Regions from separate parts of the Homo sapiens genome. Here all the other regions are linked to region 1. The links are contacts of gene promoters, found by promoter capture Hi-C in blood cells and fetal thymus (Javierre and others, 2016). All regions are on one chromosome and are shown on one strand. Each heading gives the region's core, a stretch centred on a gene start or on the middle of the fragment in contact. The rest is flanking DNA. Distances are from core to core; before and after follow the strand shown. Region 1 holds the start of CADM4 (cell adhesion molecule 4). Region 2 has its middle 6.8 kb from the start of SMG9. Region 3 has its middle 9.4 kb from the start of IRGC.

Evidence for each region. Contacts are between HindIII fragments. The CHiCAGO score rates a contact against its expected background, and 5 or more counts as called.
Region 2: a fragment that was not itself captured here is called in contact with the fragment with the promoter of CADM4 in region 1 in 1 of 17 cell types (monocytes); the score reaches 5.1 in monocytes.
Region 3: a fragment that was not itself captured here is called in contact with the fragment with the promoter of CADM4 in region 1 in 3 of 17 cell types (neutrophils, monocytes and total CD4 T cells); the score reaches 7.0 in neutrophils.

The regions. Positions count from the first base shown.
Region 1 is chr19:43,637,909-43,641,365 of GRCh38, reverse strand. It overlaps CADM4 (cell adhesion molecule 4), which reads left to right and starts at 1,516. Exons shown (of 9, transcript NM_145296.2): 1 at 1,516-1,639. The coding sequence starts at 1,576. RefSeq lists a silencer at 1,493-1,632. The HindIII fragment of the contact is 9,580 bases long and covers 1-3,457 here.
Region 2 is chr19:43,760,066-43,763,522 of GRCh38, reverse strand. No RefSeq gene overlaps it. Among named protein-coding and RNA genes, the nearest start is that of SMG9, 6.8 kb to the right of the region's middle. The HindIII fragment of the contact is 1,951 bases long and covers 942-2,892 here.
Region 3 is chr19:43,723,795-43,727,251 of GRCh38, reverse strand. No RefSeq gene overlaps it. Among named protein-coding and RNA genes, the nearest start is that of IRGC, 9.4 kb to the right of the region's middle. The HindIII fragment of the contact is 6,289 bases long and covers 1-3,457 here.

The DNA.
Region 1 (3,457 bases), core at 267-2,766:
GGGAGCTGGGTACTGAGGACAGAAAGGGTGTGTGAAGCTGAAGTCCCTTGTGGGACTGGATGTAAAATTTTTTAGTCGGAATAAAAAGTAAGGATTTTCAGCCAGGCATGGTGGCTCACGCCTGTAATCCAGCACTTTGGGAGGCCAGACAGATGGATCACCTGAGGTAAGGAGTTCAAGACCAGCCTGGCCAGCATGGCAAAACTCCGTCTCTACTAAAAATATAAAAATTAGCTAGGCATGGTGGCGGGCGCCTGTAATCTCAGCTACTCGGGAGGCTGAGGCAGGAGAATCACTGGAACCTGGGAGGCAGAGGTTGCAGTGAGTCGAGATCGTGCCACTGCACTCCAGCCTGGGCAACAGAGCGAGACTCCGTCTGGGCGGGGAGGGGGGAGGGGGGAAGGAAAGATGTTCATAATTGGCACTTCTGGACCTCAGTTTGCCTGACAAATGGGCATGAGAGAGGTCGAGGCCTTCTTTCCATGGTTTCTCACTCTTTCTGGGTCCCATAGGTAATGATCCCGCATCAGGTCTACAGGGTGTCACAGAAGTGGGCTCAGGGAAACCCACTCCCAGGAGGGAGAAGGGACCTAAGTCTGGAGGGGTGAGTCACCCTCAAAGATGGGGAGAGAGGAAGGGCAGAGGCAAATACATGCAGAGAGAGGGAGAGAGGCTGGGGCAGGGAGACAGCAGGGAGGAGAGGGGACGCCAGGGCTTGGAAGGTGTTCACAGGAGCCTCTCCCTCCTGGGACCCAGGATTCAGGCTTCCTTCCAGTTAGTTCACTTTCAGGGGGCCCCTCCCGGAGAATGACGCGGAAACACGGGGTTTTCAGGTCAGGACAGGAGAGAGGGAGGGAGGGAACTGACCCCACCCCACTCCTGAGCCCCAGCCTCGCCCTGCCCTGGGAGATCCTTGACCTGCCTCGACCTCCGGACCCTCCGGACCTCCAGCTGCAGCCTCCCCTGTCCCGGTGGCTCAGCTCACAGCCTCTCGCTAGACTCCAGACACCCACCTGCCCGCAGCACGCCTCTCACACTCACCTTTCCCACGTCGCACTCCCTCCCTTACGCTCCCCCGTCACGCTGGCCACGCTCTCCCTTCGCACACACCGCACCCCACGACGCCCGCGCCCCCACCCTCGCACAGCCTCCAGCAACACCCTGCCACCCTCCCCTCCGCGCAGCGCAAGCACCCTGCATGCCAGCAACTCCGCACCCTCGCGCGCAGCACCTGGGCCCGCACGCAGCACCCTCACCCAACACCCTCCATTTCCCGCGCTCACCGAGATCCCCCACCTGCTCCCACGCCGCTGTCGCCCTCCCGCGCACCCCTTCCCGCCCTCCTCACCCCTCTCCTCTCCAGCTTTCGCACCCCGCACCGTTCCCCCACCGTGCCGTCCCCCCGATTGTCTCCGGGCCTCTCCTCCGTCTCCCCCTCCCCTCCCCGGCCCCGCCCCGGCCTCGGCGCCCCGCCCCCGGGCGGGCAGGGGGCGGGGCGCGGGGGGCGGGGCGGGCGGCGCGGGCGGTGCAGGTGCCGGGCCGGGAGCGAGCGGCGGCGGCGGCGGCGGCGGCACCATGGGCCGGGCCCGGCGCTTCCAGTGGCCGCTGCTGCTGCTGTGGGCGGCCGCGGCGGGGCCAGGTAGGGTCGGGGGCCGGGGTCGGCCGGCCGGGCTGGGGCGGGGGGCGCGCTGTGGTGACAGCCCGGCAGCCTCGGGGCCGCAGAGGCCGAACAATGCGCGCGGGGCCGGGCCGGGCCCCCTCCCCGGGACAAAGCGCAGCGCGGGCCGGGAGCCGGGAGCGACGAGCGGGGGAGGGGGCGCGGGGCCCGGCCGCCGTGCCGCAGCCCCCCCACCCGCGCAGGCTGGATCCCGGCGGGGACAAAGGGCCCGAGACCCCCCTACACACACAAGTCCGCCCTCCCCAGGCCGGTCCCGCTGTCCTTCTGTCCAGTCTCTGCGTCCCTCTGTCCGCCCGTCTCTGAACCCCCCCGTCTGGCTCCTCGTCCCCCTACCCTTGTCCTCTATCCCTCAGTCTCGAAGTCCTGTCCCTCCTTCTGTCTGTCTCCCTCTCTTCTTGCCTCGGTGTTCCTCATCTATTCTGTCTTTGTCCCCTACCTCTGTCCCCTGGTCTCTGTCCCCTTTTCCTGGGTCACTCTGTCCCCTCCATCATCCTGTCTATTCTCTTTCCCCCGGATTTCTGCCCTCCCTCTCTGCCCCTATTCTTGGTCCCTGTCTCTGTCTCGCTGTCACCCTTGTTTTTCTGTCCCTTTTTCTCTGTCCCCTATCTGCCCCATCCCCTTGTCTCTGTCCCCTGTCTTTCTGTCACTCGTTTCTCTAACCCTTTCTGTCACCTGTCTCTTTCCCCCTTCTCTGTCCCACTATCTCCATCCCTGTCTTTCTGCTGTGCCTCCTCTCTCTACGCTTACAGCCTCCATCCCGGGATCTCCCATTCCCATCCTACCTTCCTCCCTCTCTCTATCCCTCTGTGCCCCTGAAGAGGAATTCAGTCAGGCAGGGCATTCTAAAGAGCCCTGGAGGGGAACATCTGTGTGCATGTGTGTGGGGAAGTGAGAATGGGGGACCTTGGCGTGTAGGCACACACGTGGATTCAGCGAATGCCTCTCCAAACCCTGCTCACCCATTCACACACCCAGGCTTGACTCACAGAGAAGCCCCTGTCCAGGACATCCAGGGAGCCATCCACATACCCTCATCACACACTGTGAGAAGCTGGAGACCCCCGAGGTTGGGTGACCCTGAGAATGGGGACAAGGTCAGGAAATGTCACCCACACACACTCTCACACTGTGTAAGTCTTGAACCTGCCACGGGTCACCCCTCCCTGGTGGATAAGGCCACTTTTGGAAGGAACAGAGGATTGGAAGGTGGCTAGGCAGAAGCAGGAGGGCTGGGTGTTCGGCAGAGATTGGTGAGAGGAGTTATAACCAGGTGGCATGGGGCTGGCGGCCTGGGCTTAAATCTTGGCTCTTGCCATTTGCCATCGCAGCCAATGGTAAACACCTTCCTCTCTCCAGGCTTCTGTTTCTCTTTCTGTAAAGTGAGGATGTTGAACTCAGTGACATGAAAGGGAACGCCAGCTCAGACCGTGAAGGGGTTTCTGGCAAGTTGAGTGCGGTTACATGTTCCCCACTCCAGGGTTTGAGGCAGAGCCATCCTCACCTCGGCCAGGATGAGGGGCAAAGCTGTCCTCTCACTGTCTTTCTTTCTTCTCTAGTCTTCTGTGACTGCTTTAGAACTTGCATCATTACCTCCTTTCTTTACAACAGACATGCCACAATTTCCCAGATGAGAACTTTGGTACCTCAGTGACATTTCCATCAATTTTAATTTATCTTTATTTTTTAGGCTAAACACCAGGCTCATAGAATCCTGGAACTAATGAATCCAGTAAATAAAGAACCTGATGGTACTTTAGAATGCTGACATCTACAGGATTC
Region 2 (3,457 bases), core at 668-3,167, 120 kb before region 1:
TCCTGTCAAAGTCTAGCTCTGAGTCCAGCTCTTTTTTTTTTAGAGACAGAGTCTTGCTCTGTCACCCAGGCTGGAGTACAGTGGTACAATCGTAGCTCACTGCAGCCTCGAATTCCTGCACTCAAGTGATCCTCCTGCCTCAGCCTCCCAAGCAGCTGGGACTACAGCTGTGTGCCACCATGCCTGCCCCCTTTTTTTCTTTAACTGACATATATTTTAACATACAATAAAGTACACAAATTTTAAATGTAATCTCAATATATTTCTTCAAATACATTCACCTGAGTAGCCATCACTCAGATCAAGCTAGAAGTGTCTAGCCCCCTAAAGCTCTCATTTCCCTCCCAGCCAACAGCCCCCTTCATCCCAGGAACCACCATCCTGACCTGTCTTGATTCCTTTTGTTCAACTTTGAACTTTGGAAGGAACCCTGCTGCACGCCCTGGTGTGTATCTGTGTCTTGGGCTCTGCAGGGTGGTGGTGAGATTCAGCCATGCTGCTCATCCTTTTCATTACACAGTAGTATTCCATTGTGTCAGTATGCCCACAAGCCTCACCCGGGGGACTCTGCAAGCTCAGTCTCTCCCCGTCTTCTGGCCTCCCCTTCTCCTCCCTGTCCTGGCTGCTCAGGCCACTAGGCTCCTCTTCCTTCCCAAACTGCCTGCTGCTCTCCCCTCCTTCTTGCCCCATCCACTCAGAATAAAAATAAACATCACTAACATTTATTCAGTTCTTTGTTGTAGAGACGGGGGTCTCACTATGTTGCCCAGGCTGGTCTCAAACTCCTGGGCTCAAGAGATCCTCCCACCTTGGCCTCCCAAAGTGCTGGGATTACAGGCAGGAGCCACCATGCCCAGCCCAGCTATTTATTATGGTCCATAAAGGAAGCTGTATCATCATCATCAACACCAGACTGGCAGTCCAAAGGCATGCTTTAAGCTTTTATGTTGTGTGGAATAGCTGCTAACATATACAAACCAGGAGAGTGCTTTTTATAATTTGGAGGGGGTGTCAAATGATAAAACTTTCCTTTCTTTTTCCAGGATGAGCTGGCCCTTCTTCAAGTCAAGTCTAGCCCCCTCACCCTGTCCACACCTCCTCAAAAAACAGCTCCAAAGTCTCCTGGTCTCTTTTCCCTCTATCATTCCCATCTGCACACAAACATGCTATAATTTCTCCCATCTTATAAACATCCCACTGGAACTTTCAGAAGCATTTTAGATTCTCCATTTTCCTTAAAGTTCACTATTCACCAAACTGCAAAATATCTGTCGCTCTGTCACCTAGGCTGGAGTGCAGTGGCGTGATCTCGGCTCACTGCAACCTCTGCCTCTCAGCTTCAAGCAATTCTCGTGCCTCGGCCTCCCGAGTGTAGCTGGGATTACAGGTATGCACCTCCACCACGCCCAGCTAATTTTTTGTATTTTTAGTAGAGATGGGGTTTCATTATGTTGGCCAGGCTGGTCTCGAACTCCTAGCCTCACGTGTTCTGCCTGCCTCTGCCTCCGCCTCCCAAAGTGCTGGGATTACAGATGTGAGCCACCAAGCCCGGCCATAAAGTTGGTTCTAAACTCCTGCTACATAGAATGACATAAAAGACTTTGCCAGACATAAAGAGCTAAAGATGCCAGACACACGGAAGACATGCTGTAAGATTTCATTCGCATGAAGTTCAAAAACAGACACAACGAATCTCTGTGCCTGTTTTTGAAAGGCATTAGATGGGTGGTTGCTTCTGGAGCAGGGGAATTGACAGGGAAAGAGCACAAGGAAGACGTCTGGGTGCTGGAAATGTTCTCTGATTAGCGGTTACATGGATGCATAAATTTGTGAAAATTCATTACCTGGTACACTTAAGATCTGTGCCCTTTATATACTTTACCACACTTAAGTTATATGTCACCCAAAAAGAAAATAAATAAAAATAAAGAAAAATAAGTACTTATACATTTTTCCTGATAGATACTGAGAAGGTTCCATAACACAGTTAGATGGGGGATCAAAAGTCATGTCTTTTCCATGGTGGACCCCACATCTGCCTCCAGCTGCTGCCCCGTGTCTCTGCTCCTTAGTCCATTATCTTCTCTTTGGAACCCTTTGATCCCATGGCGCCAGGTCATCCCCTCTCCTGACACTCCTGGCTCCATCTCAGCCCCTCTCCAGGATCCTGGCTTCTACATGCGGGATGCTCAGGCCTAGTCCCTGCTCTCTTCAACCTCTCAGCCTAGATGATCTCAGCAAATCATAGCTTTAAATATCATCTATAAATAGGCAGCTCCAAAATTTAGCATACTTGTATAGTTATTAACAAAATGACAGGTTATCTGTGATTTTCTTAAAACAAACAAAACTCCAGGGGGTGGCGGGAAGTATGCTTATATGTGGGAGGGAAAAATAGAAGACATAAGACAAGAAAAATGCAGATGTCTGTCAATATTGGGCGATGGGTACGTGGGAGTCTCTTCATACCATAACATCTTTGTGTGTATTTTTAAAACTCTGTAGTGACTGTAATCCCAGCCTTTGGGAGGCTGATGGGGTGGATTGCTTGAACCCAGGGGTTCGAGACCAGCCTAGGCAGCATAGTGAACCCTCATCTCTAAAAAATTAGCCGGGTGTGCTAGAGCATATGTGGTCCCAGCTACTTGGGAGGCTGAGGCAGGAGGATTGCTTGAGCTCGGGAGGTGGAGGTTGCAGGGAGCCAAGATCGTGCCATTGCATTCCAGCCTGGGTGACAGTGCAAGACTTTGTCTCAAAATAAATTAATTAATTAAACTAAATTCTGTGACGCAAAGTCAGAAAGTCTTTATCTACAAACCCCGGCTTTTTCCCCTAACTCCAACCACTTATTTGATGACCAACGTGCATCTCAAAGTTAAGAATTTCAAAGCTTGTTGATTTCCCATCAAAAGTACTTTTCCTCATCCCGGTAAAAAGCCTCAGTCTTAGGCCGGGCGTGGTGGCTCACGCCTGTAATCTCAGCACTTTGGGAGGCTGAGGCGGGTGGATCACGAGGTCAGGAGATCGAGACCATCCTGGCTAACATGGTGAAACCCCGACTCTACTAAAAATACAAAAAAATTAGCCGGGCGTGGTGGTGGGCACCTGTAGTCCCAGCTACTCGGGAGGCTGAGGCAGGAGAATGGCATGAACCCAGGAAGCGGAGCTTGCAGTGAGCCGAGATCACGCCACTGTACTCCAGCCTGGGCGACAGAGCAAGACTCCATCTCAAAAAAAAAAAAAAAAAAAAAAAAAAAAAAGTCTCAGTCTTCAGGCAGTTGGCCAGGACCAAAACCTCTCGAACTTTTTTTTTTTAATTATTATTATACTTTAAGTTTTAGGGTACATGTGCACAATGTGCAGGTTTGTTACATATGTATACATGTGCCATGCTGGTGTGCTGCACCCATTAACTCGTCATTTAGCATTAGGTATATCTCCTAATGCTATCCCTCCC
Region 3 (3,457 bases), core at 517-3,016, 86 kb before region 1:
CAGAGCCCTGGCTGCCTCTCACGACAGCATCAGTATCTTGAACTGGCTGAGGGCTGGCTGGGCTGTACTTGCCATGGGTTGCCTGACCCCTAGTTCTCCAGCTTCAGAACGTGGTGACCCTTAGCAGAACAGGGGAGGGAGTATTTTCACCCTGAGTTACCCATTCTCCAATCCCTCTGCATGCCTGTCATAAATGTGTTACAATATACTTGCTGCCTTGGCATCCACTTTTAGGCCTGACATACATTGTTTGAAACTCAACGAAACCTCATCACCTTGGCCTAGTAAAACTTCCCCTTCCCCTTGTGGCTTGCAGTTTAGCCCACTTGTTCCTCATCTCACCAATCCAAAATCCAACAACATCCTACAGTGGCTGACCATGGCCCTATGGGATGGTCAACATCAGAGCGATGTAAATAAGTTCCCCCTTCAAGCGTGTTTTCTTTAAAATAGCCAATCCACAACCACCATGGGAAAGCCTAAGGGAATACAGGCATAGGCCCACAGGTTGTTTTTTTTTTTTTTTTGAGACGGAGTCTAGCTCTGTTGCCCAGGCTGGAGTGCAGTGGCGCAATCTCGGCTCACTGCAACCTCTGGCCTCCCGGGTTCAAGTGATTCTCCAGCCTCAGTCTCCCGAGTAGCTGGGATTACAGGTGCCCGCCACCACCCCTGGCTAATTTTTTGTATTTTTAATAGAGATGGGGTTTCACTATATGTTGGCCATGCTGGTCTCGAACTCTTGACCTCAGGTGATCCACCCACCTTGGCCTCCCAAAGTGCTGGGATTACAGGTGTGAGCCACTGCACACAGCTCTCCATGACTGTTTGACACTATCTTTTGATTCCCTAAAAAATGTTTACAAGAATTTCCGCTAGATAATGCTGAACTGGCTGAACTATGGATATAGATGGATCGTATCTGAAAGATGACAATGGTAAAAACTGTGTAAGATATGTAGTTACCACTTCCTTCGAAGTTGCTGAAGCCGCCCCTTACCTGTGGCTACTTTTTTTTTTTTCTTTTGAGATGGAGTCTTGCTCTGTTGCCCAAGCTGGAGTACAGTGGCGCAATCTCAGCTCACTGCAACCTCTGCCCACTGGATTCAAGCAATTTTCCTGCCTCAGCCTCCCGAGTAGCTGGGATTACAGGCACCCACCACCATGCCCAGCTAATTTTTTTGTATTTTTAGTAGAGACAGGGTTTCGTCATGTTGGCCAGTCTTCCTGAACTCCTGACCTCAAGTAATCTGCCTACCTCGGCCTCCCAAAGTGCTGGGATTACAGGTGTGAGCTGCTGCGCCTGGCCCCTGTGGCTACTTTTGCACGAAAAGCTAAACTCACTGCCCTTGCTGGCCTCCTCGTGAAAGGGCAATCTGTTACTCTATACAGATAGTAGATATGCCTTTGGGGTTGCTCCTGATTTTGGACTGCTATGGAAATGAAGGGGTTTACTCACGTCCACTGGAGGTCAAATTAAAAATGGATCCTATGTACGGGACTTACTGGATGCCATCCAGCTGCCAGCTGCCTTGGCTATTATGGAAACTCCCGGACATTCAAGGTTAACCTCTGCGGAAGCTAGAGGAAACAGTCTTGGCTGATAATGCCGCAAAGGATGCTGCTGTTAAAGGTTCGGTTCCTCAAATCTCTCTTGAGGCCCAGCTAAAAGAGCCACCAAAAGGTGATCTAAAAATGATTACCAAAGATGCACAAAATTGGGCACCAGAAACGGAAGAACAAAATTGGAAAGATCACACTGCTAGTTCAATGATTTGAAAAAAAAAAAAAAAAAAAAAAAAAAGCTGTGTTTAAGGCCTGATAACCAGTTCTCTCCAAGTCAATATTCTTAACTACAGTACATAATCTGACCCACTGGGGAACTTACAAATTGTTTTATGAAACAATATTAGGGGGAGTGACATTAAAAGAAGCTGTACTGGCCAAGTGCAGTGGCTCTCGGGCCTGTAATCCCAGCACTCTGGGAGGCCGAAGGGGGCGGATTGCTTGAGTCCAGGAGTTCGAGACCAGCCTGGGCAACATAGGGAAATCGTGTCTCTACTAAAAATATCAAAATAAGTAGTTTCAACTACTGGGGAGGCTGAGGTGGGAGAGTCACCTGAGCCTAGGAGATCAAGGCTGCAGTGAGTGGAGATCGTGCCATTGCACTCCAGTCTGAGTGACAGAATGAGACCCTCTCTCAAAAAAAAAAAAAAAAAAAAAAAAAAAAGCTGCCAAAAAAAAAAAAAAAAGCCTATTTGGCACTTGTGCCACCTGCCGTAAGTTTAACTCAGGAAAATGTGTACATCCCGATCCTGGACATTTTAATCTACCTAATGGGCCCTTCAAGGTTTGGCAAATGGATTTTATCCAACTACCCACTTCCGTGTGTGTGTGTGTGTGTGTGTGTGTGTGTGTGTGTGTATATATATATATATATATATATATGTACTAGTAACAGTTTGCACATTCTCCTATTGGGTAGAGGCTTTCCTGGTAGACAAGCCACTGCTTCAGCTGTGGCCAAAATTCTCCTGGAAAAAAAGTATTCCCACCTAGGGAACTCCCCTTGAAGTACATCGTGATCAGGAGCCCATTTTACTGGCCATATAATAAAACAAGTGAGTTCAGTTTGGCCAATTTCTCAGCATTTCCACTGTCTACAATCCCCAATCTTCTGGCTCAGTGGAACAAACAAGGGGAACTATAAAAACCCAGTTGGATGGCCGGGCACAGTAGCTCACCCCTGTAACCCCAGCACTTTGGAAGGCTGAGGCAGGCAGATCACTTGAGATCAGGAGTTCAAGACCAGCCTGGCCAACATGGTGAAACCCCATCCCTATTAAAAATACAAAAATTAGCCAGGTGTGGTGGTACACGCCTATAATCCCAGCTACTTGGGAGGCTGAGGCAGGAGAATTGCTCAAACCCAGGGGACAGAGGTTGCAGTGAGCTGAGATCAAGCCGCTGCACTCCAGCCTAGGTGATAGAGTGAGACTCCATTTCAAAACAAAAAAACAAAAAACCCAGTTGGCAGAATTTATCTACACCTTCCTTGACCTAAGTTCCTCCTTTGGTATTATTAAATCTAAGGGCCACTCTCTTTGGGGCTCATAAACTTTCACCTTTGGAAATAGTCACAGGCCATCCTATGCACTTGGCCTCCTCTGCTTTTGACCCTTAATTGATAAAAGGAGACATATCCATCTGGGTGCAGTGGCTCACACTCGTAAAATCCTAACACTTTGGGAGGCTGAAGCAAGGGGATCGCTTGAGTCCAGGAGCTCGAGACCAGCTTGGGTAACATGGCAAAACCCTGTCTCTACAAAAACACAAAAATTAGCTGGGTGTAGTTGTGTGTGCACCTGTAGTCCCAGCTACTCGGGATGCTGAGACGGGACGATCACTTCAACCGGGAGGCAGAGGTTGCAATGAGCCAAGATCCCGCTACCGTACTCCA